Regions from separate parts of the Homo sapiens genome. Here region 2 is linked to region 1. Evidence: promoter capture Hi-C in 16 types of primary human blood cells and fetal thymus (Javierre and others, 2016). All regions are on one chromosome and are shown on one strand. The core of a region is centred on a gene start or on the middle of the fragment in contact, and the rest is flanking DNA. Distances in the headings are between cores, read along the strand shown.

The links. Contacts are between HindIII fragments. The CHiCAGO score rates a contact against its expected background, and 5 or more counts as called.
Region 2: a fragment that was not itself captured here is called in contact with the fragment with the promoter of S100A12 in region 1 in 1 of 17 cell types (neutrophils); the score reaches 5.4 in neutrophils.

The regions. Positions count from the first base shown.
Region 1 is chr1:153,374,025-153,378,642 of GRCh38, reverse strand. S100A12 (S100 calcium binding protein A12) reads left to right here and starts at 3,022. Exons shown (of 3, transcript NM_005621.2): 1 at 3,022-3,091; 2 at 4,031-4,188. The coding sequence starts at 4,051. The HindIII fragment of the contact is 5,829 bases long and covers 2,924-4,618 here.
Region 2 is chr1:153,580,932-153,585,549 of GRCh38, reverse strand. No RefSeq gene overlaps it. Among named protein-coding and RNA genes, the nearest start is that of S100A2, 17 kb to the right of the region's middle. RefSeq lists an enhancer at 1,543-2,467. The HindIII fragment of the contact is 3,376 bases long and covers 335-3,710 here.

The sequences.
Region 1 (4,618 bases), core at 1,773-4,272:
CGCCCACATCCAAGATGAAAAAAAAAATTCCCTCTTAACACTACTTTTGCTACATTCCAGATGTTTTGATATGTTGTGTTGTGTCTCTATTTTTGTATGTTTCAAAGAATTTTTTGATTTCTGCCTTAATTTTGTTGTTTAACCAAAAGTCAGGAACAAGTTGTTTAGTTTCCATTTATTTGTGTGGTTTTGAGAGTTCCTCTTGGTATTGATTTCTATTTTTATTCCACTGCGGTCCAAGATTCTTGGTATGATTTTGATTTTTTTGAATTTATTGAGATTTGCCTTATGACTGAGCATGTGGTTGATCTTAGAGTATGTTCCATGTGCAGATGAAAATAATATATATTCTGTGGTTGTTGGGTGCATTGTTCTATAGATGTCTATTAAGTCTAATTGGTCAAGTGTCAAATTTAAGTCCATAATTTCTTTGTTAGTTTTCTGCCTTGATGATTTGTCTACTGATGTCAGTGGGGTGTTGTCCCCTGCTATTATTGTGTGGCTGCCAAAATCTTTTCTTAGATGCAGAAGTACTTATTTTATAAATCTGGGTGCTCCAGTGTTGGGTGTGTATTTATTTAGGATGGTTAAATTTTCTTGTTAAATCGAACCCTTTATCACTATGTAATGCCCTTCTTTATCCTTTTTTACTGTTGTTGGCTTACAGTCTATCGGATCTGATTCAAGAATAGCAACCTCTGCTCTTTTTTGTTTTCTGTTTGCATGATAGATCTTTCTCCATCCCTTTACTTTGAATCTACAGGTGTCATTACACATGAGACAGGTGCTTGAAGACAGCAGAAGGATGGGTCTTGTTTTTAAATCGAATTTGCCAAGGTATGTGTTTTAAGTGCAGTGTTTAGGCCATTCACATTGGAGGTTAATATTTGTATGTGAGGCTGTGTTCCTGCTTTTTTGATTTCTATTTTTTTTTTTTGAGAGGGAGTCTCACTCTGTTGCCCAGGCTGGAGTGCAGTGGCGCGATCTCGGTTCACTGCAAGCTCCGCCTTGTGGGTTCACGCCATTCTCCTGCCTCAGCCTCCTGAGTATCTGGGACTACAGGTGCCTGCCACCATGCCTGGCTAATTTTTTGTATTTTTAGTAGAGATGGGGTTTCACCATCTTAGCCAGGATGGTCTCGATCTCCTGACCTCGTGATCCGCATTTAGCAACCTCTTGCCTGGATGGCTGGGATCCTGGGCTAGTCCCTTCTCCAGGCAGATGTGAAAAAAAAAAAACATCTCAGGATCCCAAACTTACTAAGCCAGAGGGAAAAGTCAAGCTGGGAAATGGGTCATGCAAGCCTGCCCCCACCCAGGTTGGTTTCTAAATAAGATAGCTACAAAGATAAAAAGCCATACACCAATCTCACAACTTGCCCACAAGGAAATTCCTTGTGAGCCTCAAGATCTTTACCCTAAAACAGTTCTATTGAATTTCACCCTGGCAGTGTAATTGACAGCTTATCTTCACAGGTGTGGGACAAAGGGCAGAACATAAAGTCATCCCTCTGCTCACCCAAGACAAATCCATATCTGATTGCTTCCTCTCCCCTATTTTTGTTATCTTATGTAAAAATGCAGATTCACTGAGCCAGATGAAGGCATAAGTGACTATTTCCTCTACTCCGCTCCCACATGAAAATTGTGTATTCAGTGAAAGATTGATCAAAGACTCAAAAGGATGCAATCACTTGTCTCTTATCTACTGACACATTTAAAAAATATTTCTTCCTCTTCCCCCAATATCCACTGTTTCTCCTTCAAATATTGAAGCCCTCAAAATCATCTTTGGAGAAAGACGTAGACCTACCTCTGGGCACGCATCCTTAACTTTGGCCAAATAAACCTCCTAAAATGATTGAGATTCACCTTGGTCATTGTCATTGATTTACACAAGCCTGATCATCCTGCTCTGGTGGTGTCCTCCTGGGCCTAGTGAAACAAATACTGTCAATGGCTTAACAATGTTGCACTGAGATTGTGTCAGTCAAGGTGACACATGGATCGGAGAGACAGACTTTTGCCTCCAGATCCAGAGAGGTCGGTGGGCACATGAAATGAACTAGCTTTGCTAAGGGGGATATCTGTGTTGTGGGGTAGATGGCAGCACAGGTTCTGGCATGGCCTTGATTGCTCAGCAATCTTATTGACCTCTAGGCATAAACCAAGGGCAGAGTGCTTTTGGATGTCCCTTAGCTTTGGTGCGACATGGGGAATGTACAGATGAGACTTAATCCATTTTGGGCAGGTTTCTGAATCTTGAAGGACCACCTCTCCATGAATCCTGGGCATCTGTTGTCCCTTGCTGCCTCTCTGTGAGTAATAAAGTTGCTTTACTAAAACTCGTGTGAATGTTCTGTCTTACTGAACTCATGAACATGGTAAAGTAACCTAGGCATGGTGAACTTTCTTCACACACAATGATTACCCTACTCCAGCTTTCTAGGTCTTTGTAACAGCCAAGTTAGAAAGTTGGGAAAGCAAAGGGGAGGCATAGTAGCATTGCTCTCTCCTTTTTTGAAAACCTTGGAATCTATTTTGAAAACTGATCCTCTGCTCCAGTGATGAACTTTGCATCCCAGAACGACTTAGGAGGAGGTCTCCCTACCTATCTCCTTAGCTGCATAAAGATCTTTAAGTTGATATTCCATTTGCCAAAACTGAAGAGCTGGTAACCTCATCTGTTAAAACAAGACACTCAGGCTGTAAAGTTTGTTCTCCTAGTCTTTTATTAGGGAGCAGTGGAGTAGAGCTAAACCTGAAACCTGGGCCCTGGCTCAGGGCTAAAAAAGGTTCAGGGCACCCCTGTGCGGGTGGGTGGAGTGGGGGTGATTTTGTTTCAGGCTGAGCAGGAGGGCAAAATTCAGTCTGGGTACAATCTGGGCTGCTCCTGTGGCAGCCTAAGCCACAGGTTTGAAGCTTCTATTGAGCAACAGAGTACTTTACATAAATTGCCTCAAGATGAATCAGAGATTTCTTCACCCAAGGGCTAAGATGAAGCCTGAACTGATTATAAAACCTTCCTTGGCTCAGTGCCCTTCACCACTGCTGGCTTTTTGCTGTAGCTCCACATTCCTGTGCATTGAGGGGTAAGTGCATTTTCCTTGGATGGGTTCTTAGGTGGTCCACAGGGTAGTGACTGCAGGTGACCACTTTGAAATCACAAGGTGTTGGAAACCACAACCCTCCACTTGCCTGAGCACCTCTGGGGTGATATTGCATTTTGGACCCAAGTAGATCAGCTCTTGTTGTGCTATGTAGACTCAGTCCCATGATTTAAGAATGGCTAAGCAGGCCGGGTACGGTGGCTCACGCCTGTAATCCCAGCACTTTGGGAGGCCGAGGCGGGCGGATCATGAGGTGAGGAGATCGAGACCATCCTGGCTAACATGGTGAAACCCCGTCTCTACTAAAAAAATACAAAAAATTAGCCGGGCGTGGTGGCGGGTGCCTGTAGTCCCAGCTACTCGGGAGGCTGGGGCAGGAGAATGGCGTGAACCCGGGAGGCAGAACTTGCAGTGAGCCGAGATCGCCCTACTGCACTCCAGCCTGGGCGGCAGAGTGAGACTCCGTCTCAAAAACAAACAAACAAACAAACAAAAAACCCAAAACAACAACAACAAAAAAAGAATGGCTAAGCAGGGGTGGGTTATGGACCATTTGTGGGGGATATGTGGCCATAGTGCCATCACCTGAGGAAAGCAAACAGCCTGGCCAATCACAGAACCCTTCCCAAGGGACCTTGAGTAAGCAATACCCTCCAAGTTATGCACCCCGGTGGATGAGGTGGTATGGAACATGGGCAACTGAGGCTGATTTTTTTAGACGTTAGACAGTATTATATGTTTTCTCCTCCCCATCCTATCCACACATGAGAAGTTCACCATGGATCAAACAGAGCAGAGACCACAAAATAGATATGGAGGATGTTATGTTTTCTTTAGGCCCTTGATTCAGAAAGAGAGGGGAGAGTGGAGGTTGAGGGGTGGGGGAGAAACTGCCTCTAGACTTCCCTTGTTTCCTTGAAGGTTAACATTAGGCTGGGAAGATGACAAAACTTGAAGAGCATCTGGAGGGAATTGTCAATATCTTCCACCAATACTCAGTTCGGAAGGGGCATTTTGACACCCTCTCTAAGGGTGAGCTGAAGCAGCTGCTTACAAAGGAGCTTGCAAACACCATCAAGGTAGGTGATGCCCCTCTCACTGCAAACTTGCCCATGACCCTGCACTGAGGGGAGTGGCAAGGCCTGGCAGAGGATGGTGGGACAAGGACTGGGGTGGGGTTGGCCCCAGTTTGAGCTCCCAAAGGATGCTCTCCCCGCTGCTGTGGGAGAGGTCCTTTGCTTCCCTCTCTCAATAACTCACTTAAGGCTCTACTCAGTTCCTCTCTCTGAGTCTGTTTCCTCATATGTAAAATGGAGAGAGGCAGGGCACGGGAGGGGTTGAATGAGTGAGCAGAAGAGTACCTTCCAGGTCAAGCCTTGTTAATTCCAGGGTGGTTCATGACCATTGTGTTCTCTGTTTTGTTACACTGGATTCTCCAACACAGTGTTGGCTAATGAGTTAATGTGCCTGGGCCTTCACAACCCGAGCTCTGAGGGATAAGAGGCCTAA
Region 2 (4,618 bases), core at 773-3,272, 210 kb before region 1:
TCTCAGCTACTGCATCTGGAGGTATTGGGGGAAATCCTCAGTGTGGACAGCCAAAGGCACTGCAGAACTAGTGTCACCATTTTGTTTGCGGTCATTCCGCTGGGCAACATCCTGGATGGGAATTTGCCTTTAAGCTTTATGTTGTGCACATGTACCCTGGAACTTAAAGTATAATAAAAATCTATCTATATATATACAAAATAAAAAAATAAAATATTCACTCATACATGTGGAAAAAAAATAAAAAAATAAAAAAATAAAAAGCAGCTCTGGGAAAAGGCAGTCTCCCTGGATTTAAACCTCCAGCTCTGTGGATTTGCAGTGGGAGGAAGCTTGTTGCCTCAGATCAGCCCCCGACTTACTTGCATCAGCTTTTTATCCTGATAGGCCTTGTGTTTTGCCCTGCTTGTTTCTTCTCTGGAGGCAATTGTATCATATCCTTGTTTTTTTCCAATCCTTAGACCTTGAAAAAATGTTTTCCTTAGTGTAATGGTCAGAACCTTCAAATTAATGTTGAATAAAGTGATAATAGCAAGAATCCTTTCCTTGTGTTTGACTTTAACAGGAACAATTTTAAAGCATTTACTGTTCATTCATTTACTGTTAAGAATAATTTAATGTTAAGAATAAGATTGCAGGCTGGGTGTGGTGGCTCATGCCTGTAATTCCAGCACTTTGGGAGGCCGAGGTAGGTGGATCCTTTGAGCTCAGGAGTTTGAGACCAGTGAGGGCAACGTGGTGAAACCCCACTAAAAAAAAAAAAATAAGATTGCAGTAGGTTTTTGCTTGTTGGTCAAGATGTTCCTTTCTATTCCTAGATTATTAAGCGTTATTATTATAAATGGGTATTGAATTTATTCTGGCATCATCATATGGTTTTAATTTTTAATCTCTTAATGTGGAGACTTACATTAATGTATTTTCTAATGTTAAAGTCATCCCTGCAATCATGACATAAACCCAACTTAGTCATAATTTTTCTTAAGTATAATACTTGATTCCATTTGCTAACAGTTTATTTAGGATTTTGCATCTATAATCATAAGTGAGATTGGGTCTCAATTTTCCTTTCTCATACGATACATTTCTGGTGTTGGTATGTAGGATGATCTGCTTGGTACATGGGTTTGGCTGTATGTAACGGATACCAAAAATAGTGGTGACGTGAATGAGAGGGAAGTTTTTTTTTTCTGTCCTGTATTATCTGGAGGTTGGTGGTCCAGGGCTGGTTTGGTGGTTCTGCTTAACCACCCCTAGTTCGTATGGTCCAAATAGCTCATGTACTTTCTAAGTGGCAGGGTGAAGAAACGGCATGTCTCTGACTTTTGAGCATGAATCAAAACTTGCATACCCCATTTCTACTTCTCTTGGCCAGAACTTAGTCATATGGCTACACTCAGCTGCAAGGAAGGCTGGGAAGTGTGGCCTTTATTTGAACTTAAAAGCAAAGATTCTTTTGCTGTGAAAGACAAGGGGAGAATAGGTAATAGGACAATTAGCAGTCTCTACCATAAAGGTTATTTTATATATGCCACATATGGGCAGTATTTCCTTTTTCTATTTTCTGGAAATTTAAGTTTGTATGATTTTTTTTTCTTTTTTTTTTTGGCTGACTTTTGTTTTTTTTTTTTTTAAATTTATTTATTTATTTATTTTTTAATTGATCATTCTTGGGTGTTTCTCGCAGAGGGGGATTTGGCAGGGCCATAGGACAATAGTGGAGGTAAGGTCAGCAGATAAACAAGTGAACAAAGGTCTCTGGTTTTCCTAGGCAGAGGACCCTGCGGCCTTCTGCAGTGTTTGTGTCCCTGGGTACTTAAGATTAGGGAGTGGTGTTGACTCTTAATGAGCATGCTGCCTTCAAGCATCTGTTTAACAAAGCACATCTTGCACCGCCCTTAATCCATTTAACCCTGAGTGGACACAGCACATGTTTCAGAGAGCACAGGGTTGGGGGTAAGGTCACAGATCAACAGGATCCCAAGGCAGAAGAATTTTTCTTAGTACAGAACAAAATGAAAAGTCTCCCATGTCTACTTTCTACACAGACACGGCAACCATCCGATTTCTCAATCTTTTCCCCACCTTTCCGCCCTTTCTATTCCACAAAACCGCCATTGTCATCATGGCCGGTTCTCAATGAGCTGTTGGGTAGACCTCCCAGACAGGGTGGTGGCCGGGCAGAGGGGCTCCTCACTTCCCAGTAGAGGCGGCCGGGCAGAGGCACCCCTCACCTCCCGGACGGGGCGGCTGGCCGGGCGGGGGGCTGACCCCCCCCACCTCCCTCCCGGACGGGGCAGCTGGCCGGGCAGAGGGGCTCCTCACTTCCCAGTAGGGGCGGTTGGGCAGAGGCGCCCCGCACCTCCCGGACGGGGCGGCTGGCCGGGCGGAGGGCTGACCCCCCCACCTCCCTCCCGGACGGGGGTGGCTGCCGGGTGGAGACGCTCCTCACTTCCCAGACGGGGTGGCTGACGGAGGGAGGGGCTCCTCACTTCTCAGACGGGGTGGCTGCCGGGCGGAGGGACTCCTCACTTCTCAGACGGGGCGGTTGCCAGGCAGAGGGTCTCCTCACTTCTCAGACGGGGTCGCGGCCGGGCAGAGGCGCTTATCACATCCCAGACGGGGCGGCGGGGCAGAGGCGCTTCCCACATCTCAGACGATGGGCGGCCGGGCAGAGACGCTCCTCATTTCCTAGATGGGATGGCGGCCGGGCAGAGACGCTCCTCACTTTCCAGACTGGGCAGCCAGGCAGAGGGGCTCCTCACATCCCAGACGATGGGCAGCCAGGCAGAGACGCTCCTCACTTCCCAGACGGGGTGGCGGCCGGGCAGAGGCTGCAATCTCGGCTCTTTGGGAGGCCAAGGCAGGCGGCTGGGAGGTGGTTGTAGCGAGCCGAGATCACGCCACTGCATTCCAGCCTGGGCACCATTGAGCACTGAGTGAACGAGACTCCGTCTGCAATCCCGGCGCCTCGGGAGGCCGAGGCTGGCGGATCACTCGCGGTTAGGAGCTGGAGACCAGCCCGGCCAACACAGCGAAACCCCGTCTCCACCAAAAAAATACAAAAACCAGTCAGGCGTGGCGGCGCGCGCCTGCAATCGCAGGCACTCGGCAGGCTGAGGCAGGAGAATCAGGCAGGGAGGTTGCAGTGAGCCGAGATGGCAGCAGTACAGTCCAGCTTCGGCTTGGCATCAGAGGGAGACCGTGGAAAAGGATTTTTTTTCTTATTTGGTAAACTTGTCTATGAAAACCATCAATTTTATCTTTGTTAGGTAGATTTATACTGCTAATCAATTTCTTTAATGATTATAGGTCTTCAGATTTTCTCCTTCTTAGTCAATGTTGGTCAGCTTTACATATAAATAATTTACATATATATAAAATTTACATATATATAATTTTTTTTCCTGCAAAGCTGCCTATTTCATCTAATTTAAAAAATGTCAACCTCAGCTTTAGCTGGGGGAATCCTGGTTAATCTGGTTTAAGAGTATAAGTCTTCAAAGTAATTTTGTTTTGCTTTTCCCAAGTGCCCCAAGGCCAAAACCAGTTTAGTATTACTTTTTATGTTGACTTCTTGGCTTTGGGGTTTTCTGAACCATTCCAGCCATGTAAACTAAAATCCCAAATCTGCATGAAGACAGGCCCAAGGTTAAAATTTCTCTAAGAAAACTTTCTCCATCCAGAGCCCAGGCGAAGACGTACAAGCTTCCTCGAAATCTCATTTTGCTCATGAGAGGTTTTTTCTTTCAGCCCATTCTTTCACCAAGAAAGTGGTACTTGGGGCACCTTGCTTCATGTAAGGTGGCTTTCGGATTCCCAGATACTTGCAGTTATAAGGACCCATCTCTTCACGATTGGTCCTTGAAAACTGAAGCCCCTTGTTTTCTGAGATTAGAAACCGTCCCTTCCCAAGAACAGCTGTAGCATTAACTCACGCCTAATTGGTTTTTAGTTTCCCCTTCGCTTTGGGCCTAGAAGGGTTTTCTTTACTTTAATGTGAACTTAGCTGTGAAATAAAAAAAGTATCACTGTCATGTTTTAACCAGATAGATTCTATTGCAGAAGCCCCTGTTGAAAATAAAAAAAAAAACCAAACAAACAAAAGAAAAAAAGAAAGAAAAGAAAAATAATCGATAGAAATGGAAGTCTAGCTATTTTTCCTTAACGCAATAACTTTATCAGAATATGTCCTGGCTTTGATAAGTCTGGATCATTTTCTTTTCTTAGAACATGATGTGCCTGGCTGGGAACAGTGGCTCACACCTGTAATCCCAGCACTTTGAGAGGCCAAGGTCAGTGGCGCACTTGAGCCTGGAGTTCGAGACCAGTCTGGGCAACATGAGGAAACCCTGTCTCTACAAAAAAATATTAGCTGGGCGTGGTGGCTTAATCCTGTAATCCCAGCACTTTGGGAGGCCGAGGCGGGCGGATTACCTGAGGTCAGGAGTTTGAGACCAGCCTGGCCAACGTGGTGAAACCCCATCTCTACTAAAAATAAAAAATTAGCTGGACGTGGTGGCTTGTGCCTATAATCCCAGCTACTTGGGAAGCTGAGGCAGGAGAATCGCTTGAACCCAGCAGGCGGAGGTTGCAGTGAGCCGATATGGCGCCACTG